Regions from separate parts of the Homo sapiens genome. Here region 2 is linked to region 1. The links are contacts of gene promoters, found by promoter capture Hi-C in human tissues and cell types (Jung and others, 2019). All regions are on one chromosome and are shown on one strand. The core of a region is centred on a gene start or on the middle of the fragment in contact, and the rest is flanking DNA. Distances in the headings are between cores, read along the strand shown.

Region 1 (6,074 bases), core at 2,714-5,213:
ACATGGCTAGCAAGGAGGAGAGCCAAGCTTCAGAGCAAATGCCTGCCTCTTTCCACTACAGCTCCCTGCCTCTATGTGATGGGCATTGCCCAGGGTTTGACAACACACAGTCGTAGGCTTGAATCTGGCTCTATGCTTTACCGGCTGTGTGACACTGTGCAAGTCACTGAACCTTTCTGAGCTACAGAAAACACTACCACCTACCCTTCAGGTTGTTGTGAGGATCAGAAGTGCTGACACTTGGTAGGTATTGGATAAATGTTCCTTTCCTCTCCCCACCCTTTTCCCTAGAACTGGGAGGGAGCTAGAATCTGAAAAGAAACCCCGGTAGAGAGTATACTCAGGTGGTCTACACTCCCCTGCCACCCCCACCACCCTGTGTCCCAGCTCTGACCTTGAAGTATAAAATATAGGCTGCCACTAGGACACCCATGCTCTGCATAAAGTCGCCGATCACATGGATGAAGGCAGCTCGGACGCTGGGGTTCTCCTCCTGCTGGTTGGTGGTGCCGTGGCTGTGCCCATGGCCAGACTGGTGAAGGGTCAACCCCATTCTATGGAAGTGGAGACAAAGCCAAGGGCTCACTGAGGTCGCAGATGGAGGTCACCTATTAGGACTAGCCAACTTGTAGGGCAAAAATCTCAAGCCCCTAAACCTTGTGATCTCTTTGGCCATGTGAGAAGTCCAACCCACGTGGCCTTGGTTCAGACAGCCATGAGAGATAGGGCCCAGCGCCAATGCCAGGCTGAGCCTGGGCACAACAATGCCACAGTGTCAAATCTCAGAGCAGGAGGGCATTAGGGAGGTCACTGTCAGTTCACTCCATCATGTCACAGATGGGGAAACTGAGGCCTCTGAACAAAGACCCCGAAAGAGACACCCATTGTCTCTAACTGAGACCAATTTCAGACTTGGGTTCTGCCCCTAGGGACAGCTACTCCTGCAACAACTGGCCTCTTCCCGCCCCACTTCAGGTATGAAGCCACCAAGGCTAGTCCCTGACATGTATCAGGGAGTGGGTAGAGTGGATGAAGACTCCGATTTACAGCTCCCAGTGTTCTTGGCCTAGGCCTAAGGTAGGACCCAGGTGTTCCAGGTGCCAGAGCTCAGACCATTAGGGAAGTTCTGTCCCTGTAGCGTATGCTGGAAAGTGGCACAGTCTCTTTCCGCAAAGCAGACATAGGTGTGGGTGTGAGAGGCGGGAGGAGGAGGGGAGACGAGGGAAACTGGGGCCCCACTCACATGATGTTCACAGCCACAGCGCAGCCCGACGTGATCAGCATGGTCCCCCCGTCAATTTCATAGTCCCCAGAGATCAGCCGCTCCACAGCCAGGTACACCAGTACCCCCGTCACGACCCAGATGGACAGTACAGAGACCAGGGCTCCCAAGATCTCTGAGGAAGAACCCAACCCCAACACCCACCTTGGCATGGGCCTGGAGCTAAGGAGTCTTCCCCCTTCCTTCAGGATCCTCCCCACCCACCTCCCACACAAAGTCAGGGCCTGGGTCCCACTGGGCTCTGCTGAAGGTATGGCCGGTATGGCTGCCCCTTACCCCACCCCTCATATATCTAGGAATGTAAGAGCTAGAAGGAACTAATAAGTCATCATCTGAGTCCACCTTTTTGGTTGTACATGTAAAGAAGCTGACTTATTAAAGTATGTGCCTTTTGTTCAGCTAGTAAACTGAGGCTTCTGGGGAAGACAGGCTGGGCCATCTCCCACAAAGAGGAAGGTGACGATGCAGTCCAGGGTGAACGGAAGAGAGGTTAAAGCCTATATCTTCCAGCAGCCTTTGCTGGCCTTCCCCTCCCCCCAGAGCTGATCCACAGAGTTATGTGCAGTGTTAATGCCATTGTCATTTGTTCTTGAAGCTTGGCTACTGCACTTCTTAGGAAGGTCAACTTTGCTTCCCTGCAGACTGAGAGCTCCTGGATGACTGGGACCAGGGCTCCCCCATCAGACTAGGATTTCCCAGAGGACAGAGGCCATGGTTGACATCCTCTTCCCCCATCCAGATCACCCTCCTGGCCTCACTCAGGGGAGGAAGGGGGGATCCACCCATTACAGCCACCTAAGAACCCCTGTTCTAACCCACCCTCTCTCTCAACCCCATCTCCAGCCAAACCGCGATCCTCACCAGCTCTCTGCCAGCCAAAGTTCATGGTCTTGGTGGCTGGCCGGGAGGACATCCAGAGGGAGAAGAGGCTGATGAGCATGCTGGCAAAGTCAGTGAGCAGGTGTGCTGCGTCAGTCATGACAGCCAAGCTGTGTGCCAGGTACCCACCTGCAGGGTGGAGGGTCCTTATCAGCTCCCCCAGAGAGCTGGCTCCCAAGACTGTGTGTGCAGCAGGGAGACCACAGGCTCTGGAAGAGGACATTCTGGGCTCAAGATCTCTCTACCCATGAGCTGTACCACCGTGACAAGTGACCTACTCTCTCTGAGCCTCAACTTCCACTCTCTGTGAAATGGGCCACCAATATCTACTTAGAGGGTGAATGTGCACATCAAGTTCAAATAGGGACTGGAAAACATAGCAGATACTCAGTAAATGCTCTTCCCTTCTAGGAATTCAGGCCTTCCCTTAGCTACGAGTTGTGCGTGATCTTTGGCAAGTTACTTCACCTGAACATGCCTCAGTTTCATCATCTGTAAAGTAAGGAGAATAACGTCACCCATGTGAGAACACAGGTTGTTGTTAGACCTGCATCAGATAATGTGTATATAAAGGCTTACTGTAGTGTGTGTTCAGTAATTGGGGCTTTTAGTGTCAGTATTGCTGGGAACATCCAGTCTATCCATGCACCAACTTCATTTAATTAGCCCAAAAGTGCTTACCAACGACTTCTCCGATCATGAACAACAGGCAGATGGCAGAGGCTACATACAGCTGGCGCTGGGCCTTCCCCTTCTTGGGGTCACAGTGACTGTCAGGACCCTTCTGAGCATGGCAGTGATGGTTGCTCTGGGCAGCCAGCTCAATGGCCTGCAAGTCCAGGCCAGGTCGGGGCAGAGGAATCCAGCCAGCCCCTTCCTGCCACAGAGATCCCGTGTATGACCTGGCCAGAGGGGAAGAGAGGGAACGCTCAGCTCTGAGATGAGGTAAGGAGGGCCGACTCTAGTCCCATTTCTCTGTGAGGCCTTGTGTCCACTGGGAAAAATAGCTAAGGACGCTCCGAGCTCGACAAACCAGAGGTGAGAAGCCTGTATTCAGACGGGGATGATAGGGGAATGGGAGTCCTGGGGCCCGGGGCCCTTCAGAGGCCAGAGGAGGTGAAGACCCTGGGAACCGGCCAAGGGGCGTGCTGTCCAGTGGAGCGCGGGGAAGGAACAGAGCGCAGGCTCTGGGAGAACAGCAGGCCCCCTCCAGCGCACTTGGGACACAGGGCCTCCCCGGGGCGGGGCTGCCTGGGGCAAAGTGCTGGGCGGGGCGGGACTCCAGGCATGGGAACCGCCAATCCCCCGGCCCCAGGCCCCCCGCGGGCAGGGGTCAGAATCTGGGCTGCGCCCCAAGGGAGAGACGGTCCTTGGGCCACAGCCCATTATCTTCGTTCCCTCACCTCACCCCACCCCTCCTGCATGGTCCCAGCTCAAGCCGCAGCCAAAACCAACCACTGCTAGGATGGCAAATGCGGAGGTGCGTCGGCTGCCGCCAAAATTCCCGCCCGTCCCCAGGCTCTCGCCTTACCGGATTGCCGGCCTGGCGTCCAACAGATGCTGCTTCTCCTTGGCCTCCATGCAGTCCCGCGCCGAGTCCCGGCAGCCGCGCAGCCGCCCCGCCGAGTGCGCCCTGAAAGTTGCGCGCGGGACTCCGGGTGGCGCTCACCCACCTGCCCCGAGGGCCCCGCGAGGTGCGCTCACTCCGGCCCGGCTCCTGCGGCCCCTGAGCTCCCCCGGCTCCCGCTGCGGCTGCAGCTCCGGCTCTGGCTCCGCGTGCCAAGCGCTCCCGTGTCTCGGGTCAGCCGCTGCGCCCCGCGGCCGCCGGCTTTATCCGGCCCTCGCCAACCCGTGTGAAGCTGCCGTCGGCGCGTCGTGTGCAAAAGCCCGCGGGGAAGGGGGGGCGGTCGCCGGCTGCAAAAGGCCCGGCTGTGGCCCCGCACACCTGTGCCTGCGCCCATGGGGCCCGCGGAGCCCACCTGCCGGCCGCGAGAAGTTTGCCAGCCTTCGCCCGGCGCGGCGCCGGGTGTTGCTGAGTGAGGACGGGGTGACGCCTGCGCCCCCTCTCCCGCGCGGGGTGCGCCGCCTCGCCGCCGAAAAGTTCTCGACTTTAGTTTGTAGAAATCCGCTTTGGTGGTCCCGACGGCAGGAATGTGGCTCCTTGCCTCGGAAGAGGGTCTCCAGAGGCTACTGGGGCCGCGTCTGCCCCCTCCGACTGGCGGCTGCCCTGGGCTTGATCATGTTCCCCTCTCAGGCCGGAGACCCCCCGAGGTCGGCTTGCGTTCCTGTCCTCCTGCTAGGAGGGTCCTGGGGTGGGGTGGGCTGCGCCGCCCTCAGGCTGGGGCAGTGTCTCTCCCTAGGACCGGCTGGGACTGATCGACCCATCCTCGCCACTGAAGCAGCGCCAGCTCCTCCTCTCCTGCGCGCAGGAGAATCTGGAGTGGCCGGCTTTGTCTCCACCCGCACAGAGAACAGTGTCATCGGCAGTCACCATCGGAGCAGAGACGACCACTGCCACTGCTGCCACCCCTTCTCCCCTCCCCCGCAGCGGCTCCTGGGAGCCCCAGGAAGCCTGACAAGCAAGCCTGGGAGATGCAGGCCGGAGGTGCCACCGTGTTGGTACCGCTGGGAGAAGCCCTGTCCTTCCTGGCCAGCTTGGTGCCCCACCCACTTGAAGCAGCCTCCTTCCCTGGCGGTTCTTGGGGATTGGGGAGCCTGTGGCCCCCACGCTGGCCTCTGACAGGTGCCCTCTGTGTAGAAAGAAGCTGCTGGAGACCTCCCTGTCTGGTCAATTCGTCTCCCCAGCACCCTTTGTCGCTAGGACCATAGGCTTGGTGGGTATGGCCTTTCACAGAGCCAAGAGTCAGAGGTGCAGGCCTCTTGCCCACACCACTGGGGACAGGAAGGGGCTCTTTCAGTCTCTCATCTTGTAGGAGACGGGGTGCCAGGAGTGAGGATGTGAGGTGCACCCGCTCTGCTTGGGTCCTCACTGAGTGCCTCTCTGCTTCTCTGGACTCTGGTTTTCTTCTGGAAAACCTCAGACACCCTGGTTTTCTCCAGGTCTGTCTACTCTGAGCACCAGCAGGCTCAGCATTACCTGGAGAAGGTGTTACAACGCAGGTTACAGGTCCCTGCATCAGACCAACCGAACCAGAATCTCTGGGTGTGGAGCCTGAATATTTCCAGGATTCAGTAGGTCTGGGGCAGGGCCTGGGAATCTGTATTTATAAAATTCTCTGGTGCTATTGTGGCATCATTGTTCATTTTTATGTATAGTGGTTTTTTTGTTTGTTTGTTTTTGAGACAGAGTTTCATTTCTGTCTCTGTCGCCCAGGCTCGACTGCAATCTCAGCTCACTGCAATCTCTGCTTCCCGGATTCAAGTGATTCTCCTGCCTCAGCTTCCTGAGTAGCTGGGATTACAGGTGCCCACGACCATGCCAAGCTAATTTTTGTATTTTTAGTACAGACAGGGTTTCACCATGTTGGCCAGGCTGGTCCTGAGGTTATGATTTTTTTCAAAGAACACCTTTATCTAAAGTATTTAGGGATAAAATGTCATCTGGGTTTTGCCTTAAAATAATCCCAGTGGGGAGAGTACGGTACTGGTATAGAAGAAATAAATATGTCACCAGCTGTTGAAACTGAGTGATGGGTAAATGGGGTACACTATAACTATTCCCTCTACTTTTCAGTATTTAAAAAATGTTGGCTGGGTGCGGCGGCTCACGCCTATAATCCCAGCACTTTGGGAGGCTGAGGCAGGCGGATCACCTGAGGTCAAGAGTTCGAGACCAGCCTGGTCAACATGGCAAAACCTCGTCTCTACTAAAAATAAGAAAATTAGCCAGGCATGGTGGCAGGCGCCTGTAATCCCAGCTACTCAGAATTCTGAGGCAGGAGAATCACTTGAA
Region 2 (5,261 bases), core at 951-3,450, 390 kb after region 1:
CCAGAGGAGATTCACTGACTAGCTATAAATGCAACATTTTCTTTGAGCCAAAGTTTGCTAGCTTTTTAATGAACATCGAGTTTTTTTATATACATCACAAGTCATCAAGCAAGAACACTGAATTTTAAACATCTATTCCCACTAAGGGAAGGAGGATTTTAAAAAGGAAAAAAAAAAAACTTGATTGGAGGCAAACCAAGTATATTAACACCGTGCAAGGAAACAGGGAAACTGGTTTAAATCCTCAAGCCTGACATTATAAGAGTAAGGGTAAGAAGTTTCATAATCTACTCCAGGGACTTTGTGGCTCCTTAATTGTACCAAAAGTCAAAGCTGACAGTAGAACCTCATGAAGCAGCAAACTACTAGTGGACTTCATTAAATTGTCTTGCTGCAAAATGAAGTAACTTGGACTGAAATTTACTCCCCAGGCTGCAAAGCAGGAAGGATGGAAAAGCTCAACACTATTCATTTCTACTCATCTCTAGGGCTTTCTTTCATCATGTTGCTGTGTTAAAATAACCCCTTTCATTAGAAAGAGTGGAAGACATAATCAATTAGAAAGTGCCAATAAAACATCTCTTCCTTGCCTCATTTCTTTAATAATATTGTAAAATGAAATGCGACAAAAAGGTTCTTTGACAATTGTGAATTTTTATTCCACTCAAAACATAATACTACATAAAGTTGTATTATGCTTTGCAAGAAATACTGGTTGTGGCCGGGCGCGGTGGCTCACGCCTGTAATTCCAGCACTTTGGAAGGTCTAGGCAGGCAGATAACGAGGTCAAGAGATCAAAACCATCCTGGCCAAAATGGTGAAACCCTGTCTCTACTAAAAATACAAAAATTAGCCAGGCTTGGTGGCACGCGCCTGTAGTCCCAGCTACTCAGGAGGATGAAGCAGGAGAAACGCTTGAACCCGGGAGGCGGAGGCTGCAGTGAGCCGAGATCGCGCCACTGCACTCCAGCCTGGGCGACATAGCCAGACTCCGTCTCTAAATAAATAAATAAATAAATAAATAAATAAAAATAATACTGGTTGTATAAGAATCTGTAAAGAATTTTTTCCTCCTCTTTCAATTTTGAGAAAATTGAACTACAAATTTGTTTTGTGAGCCTAGAATTCTTGCAACCCTTTTTTTCGTAAAGGTTCAGTAGAGCTAATGCCCTTAACTTTTCTACCAGGGTTAATTTCTGTTATTTTCATTTATGTACTGCCAAAGCGAGCACCTTTCTGTTATTTTAGAAGTCATGCTTTTTTTTTTTTTCTTTTTTCAGACAGAGTTTCGCTCCTGTTGCCCAGGCTGGAGTGCAGTGGCCTGATCTTGGCTCACCGCAACCTCCGCCTCCCGGGTTCAAGCGATTCTCTTGCCTCACCCTCCCGAGTAACTGGGATAACAGGCGCCCGCCACCACGCCCGGCTCATTTTCTGTATTTTTAGTACAGACGGGGTTTCACGATGTTGGTCAGGCTGGTCTCAAACTCCTGACCTCAGGTGATCCGTTCGCCTCGGCCTCCCAAAGTGCTGGGATTACAGGCGTGAGCCACCGCGCCTGGCCTAGAAGTCATTCTTATGGCAGAAATCTTTCTGGCCTTACCCCTTCTCTTGAGTTCGTTGGGATAGGTCTTGGGAATCCACAAATCCTAAAATATGCGTGCCTTAAGTCGGCACAAAATAGATTAATATTCTGCGCGTCTGTAAGATTGGCTGCGGCTAGAAACTCCTTCCCAGACGATTAAATCCACTAAATAAAATACGAAACGGTAACGAGATAATTTTTAAGAGTATGCACCAGTGCTCTAATGAAGCCCGGTTCTGCGGCATTCCAAGGTAAGGACGCTGCCTTACCCAGTCTCTCAGCAGTCCTAAGCTGCCTTCGACGGCCGAGAAGCGCCTCGATTCTTGCCCCTGGCTCATTTCCCTGGCGCGTTTTCCAGACGCCTCCGCTCCCAACGCTGGGCTCAACCCTGTCTTCCCCAGCTGGTCTCCCAGCACGTGGCCTGGAGCCCAGCCTCCCGCCCCGCTCGGTCACGTGAGCCTGGCTCTCACCCGCGCCGGCTTCCACACCCCGCGGGACTGAGAACCGCCCTCCCACTAGCTCGCAGGCGCAGGCGCAGGGCAGGGTCCCCTCAGTTTGGGTGACGGAAGGGGCGTGTCGCAGCGCCCAAAGATGACGTGTTCTGCCAGCGCCACGTCATGAGGAAGTGCCGGCCCACTGAAGCCGTGGGGACGCGCCCAGCGGAGCTAATCAGGTGCCACTGAACTGAAGGGGTGAACTAGAGGAGAAGAGGGTGACTGGGCGGGGAGCAGCTGCGGGAGAAGCAAAGGGACGACTGAGGGAATAATCAGGAGACCACTGAGGCGTGAAGTACTAGGCGTGCGATAACTGAAGGAGTTAGTAACTGGGAGCACAGAGTTGGAAACAGCTTAGGGGAAGATGGAGAAGGAAGAAACGGGGAATGATCAAGATGTGGGCACCATGATGTGGCAGGAAACCGACTTAGATGTTCAGAAGAAGTCAGTGCAGATACGGAGGAAATGGGAATGGGAAGAAGTCTGCAAAGCCAGGAGAACCGAGGAAAGGCTTTTGCCTCCAGAGGTCACATTGCGTTATAAAACTCTGGGTGGTAAAAGATTATAGGCTTAGACCAGTGTCTTTGGATTCTAATGCTGGCTGCTCTCCATAGTCCATCTGATTCCCCAGAAGTCAGTTATAGCTCTTCGCAAACCTTGGTGACTTCTTATTTTCTTTCTTGTTTATCCAAGATTACCTGGCTGGTGTTTGCTTGTTCTGGAGTGATCTTCTGACTGGAAAAGAACTATGTCATGGATCAAGGAAGGAGAGCTGTCACTTTGGGAGCGGTTCTGTGCCAACATCATAAAGGTGAGCAATGGCCCAGAGCACCGGTTGGCCTTCTGGTCAGTTGGATAATCTTATATAAAAACCTGTTATTAAAGTTGATGATGTTAAGTGCAATTCATGATGTTAAGTGGAATTTAGCAAGGAAACCAAAGAGTCTTAGAATGGTAACTTCCAGGTCTACATTTCTGGTAGACTTTTGTCCTAACTCTGATATTTTCTGGAAGCCCAGGCCTCTTAATGTCACTGGGCAGCCTAGACTGCTAAGTATTCTTTATAGAGAACTGAAATTTGTTTCCCTGGAACATTGATCCATTGTTCCATGTACTGTCTTCTTGATTTAAATAGGTTAATCTTTGATATATTCTTTGATCTGTCAGTAGAGCTGGGCCCGGTCACTCACGCCTGTAATCCCAGCAATTTGGGAGGCTGAGGTGGGCAGATTGTTTGAGCTCAGGAGTTGAGACCAGCCTGGGCAACATGGCAAAACCCCGATTCTCCAAAAAATTAAAAAAATAGCAGGGCTTGGTGGTGTGCACCTGTAGTCCCAGCTACTCGGAAGGCTGAAGTGGGAGAATTTCTTGAGCCCAGGTCAAAGCTGCAGTGAGTCATGATTGTGCCACCACACTCCAGCCTGGGTGACAGAACGGGACTGTCTCAAAAAAAAGAGTTCAGAACAAGACTCTGTCTCAAAAAAAAAAAAAAAAAAAGAGTTTGGGCTCTAGACGCAGACAAACATGGGTGAAATTCCTGTTCTTTTTTTTATTTTGAGATGGAGTCTCGCTCTGTCGCCCAGGCTGGAGTGCAATGGCGCAATCTTGGCTTACTGCAACCTTCATCTGCCAAGTTCAAGCAATTCTCTTGCCTTAGCCTCCCAAGTAGCTGGGGTTACAGGCATATGCTACCACACATGGCTAATTTTTATATTTTTAGTAGAGATGGGATTCTCATATTGGCCAGGCTGGTCTCGAACTCCTGACCTCAGGTGATCCACCTATCTCAGCCTCCCAAAGTGCTGGGATTATAGGACTGAGCCACTGCACCTGGCCTGAAAGTCCAGTTCTATCATTTAGTAATCATGTGACTTTAACAACTGTAGAATTATCATGAGAATTTATGAGACATTAATATAAAGCAGTTAGCATAATGTCTAGCAGTTCTTAATTATTATTAGGATTGTCTTTCAGACATTTGAAGACTATTATCTCCTATCTTCCCCAAATCTTCCCTCAGCTTTTTCTCTAGGAATCACAGCAATATTATATCTGCCTAAGACAGGTTTGAGATTGGGGCCAGTCAGCTTGGTTTTGTTTTTCAACCACAGGCTGTCAAGCAGCAGGTAGTAATGAATTTATGAGTCAGTAACCTTTATACAAGCCCCACACATGCTCACAAACAAATGCCAAGTGATCTCAAGCAGTCCAGGAAATGGGAAGTATCTCCTTGGGGAACCACTGCAGTGGTATGTTTGGAAGAACAAGCTGCATAACTTGAATGGATTTTGGGGGCTGGAAAGGCTGTATGTGAGACAGAAGTAGAAAAAGGAGAAGTGTTGATGAGGAAGCAGTCAGGGAAGAGCCCTCCCAGGTGAGGAAAAATAGGCTAAGGAGTCCATTTGTGTTATGGGAGACAACTCAAAGCTGCTCCAAGCCAAATAAGGGTTTTGTTTTTTGTGGTTTCTTTTTTGAGATGCAGTCTTACTCTGTTGCCCAGGCTAGAGTGCAGTGGTGCAGTCTTGGCTTACTGCAACCTCTGTCTCCTGGGTTCAAGCGATTCTCCCACCTCAGCCTCCCCAAGTAGCTGGGATTATAGGCACCGGCCACCATGCCTGGCTAATTTTTTTTTTTTTTTTTTTTAGTAGAGTTGGGGTTTCACCATGTTGGCCAGGCTGGTCTCGAACTCCTGGCCTCAAGTGATCTGCCCACCTCAGCCTCCTAAAGTACTGGGATTACAGGCTTGAGCCACCACGTCCGGCCCCAAGTAAGTTTTGTTTGGCTCAAAAAAAGTCTTTTTTGTTTGCTTTGAAAAACAATTTTTTTTTTTCAGACAGAGTCTCACTCTGTCGCCCAGGCTGGAGTGCAGTGGCACAATCTCAGCTCACTGTACCCTCTGCCTCCCCGGTTCAAACAATTCTCCTGCCTCAGCCTCCCGAGTAGCTGGGATTACAGGCGCTCGCCACCACGCCCGGCTAATTTTTCTTTATTTTTAGTAGAGACAGGGTTTCACCATTTTGGCCAGGCTGGTCTTAAACTCCTGACCTCGTGATCCACCCGCCTCGGCCTCCCAAAGTGCTGGGATTACAGGCATGAGCCACTGCGCCCGGCTGAAAAGCAAAATTTTAATAAAAATCCTGATGTTTGGTTTTCTTGCAAGATCACCAGATCCAGCAATGTTGTG

The links. The method cuts DNA at HindIII sites, captures the fragments that hold promoters and counts their contacts. A contact is called where the count stands out against the background at its distance.
Region 2: a contact is called between the fragment with the promoter of DHDDS here and the fragment with the promoter of SLC30A2 in region 1, in 1 of the 25 tissues and cell types used here (mesenchymal stem cells).

Annotation. Positions count from the first base shown.
Region 1 is chr1:26,042,155-26,048,228 of GRCh38, forward strand. SLC30A2 (solute carrier family 30 member 2) reads right to left here and starts at 3,964. Exons shown (of 8, transcript NM_001004434.3): 1 at 3,693-3,964; 2 at 2,843-3,063; 3 at 2,144-2,290; 4 at 1,244-1,397; 5 at 395-554. The coding sequence starts at 3,742. RefSeq lists an enhancer at 2,995-3,563. The HindIII fragment of the contact is 12,838 bases long and covers 953-6,074 here.
Region 2 is chr1:26,430,121-26,435,381 of GRCh38, forward strand. It overlaps DHDDS (dehydrodolichyl diphosphate synthase subunit), which reads left to right and starts at 2,201. Exons shown (of 9, transcript NM_205861.3): 1 at 2,201-2,256; 2 at 2,771-2,888. The coding sequence starts at 2,826. LOC124903883 (a long non-coding RNA gene) reads right to left here and starts at 2,117. Exons shown (of 2, transcript XR_007065557.1): 1 at 1,853-2,117; 2 at 635-998. RefSeq lists enhancers at 1,420-1,956, 1,741-1,800, 1,871-1,930, 1,957-2,493, 2,031-2,520 and 1 more. The HindIII fragment of the contact is 9,291 bases long and covers 1-5,261 here.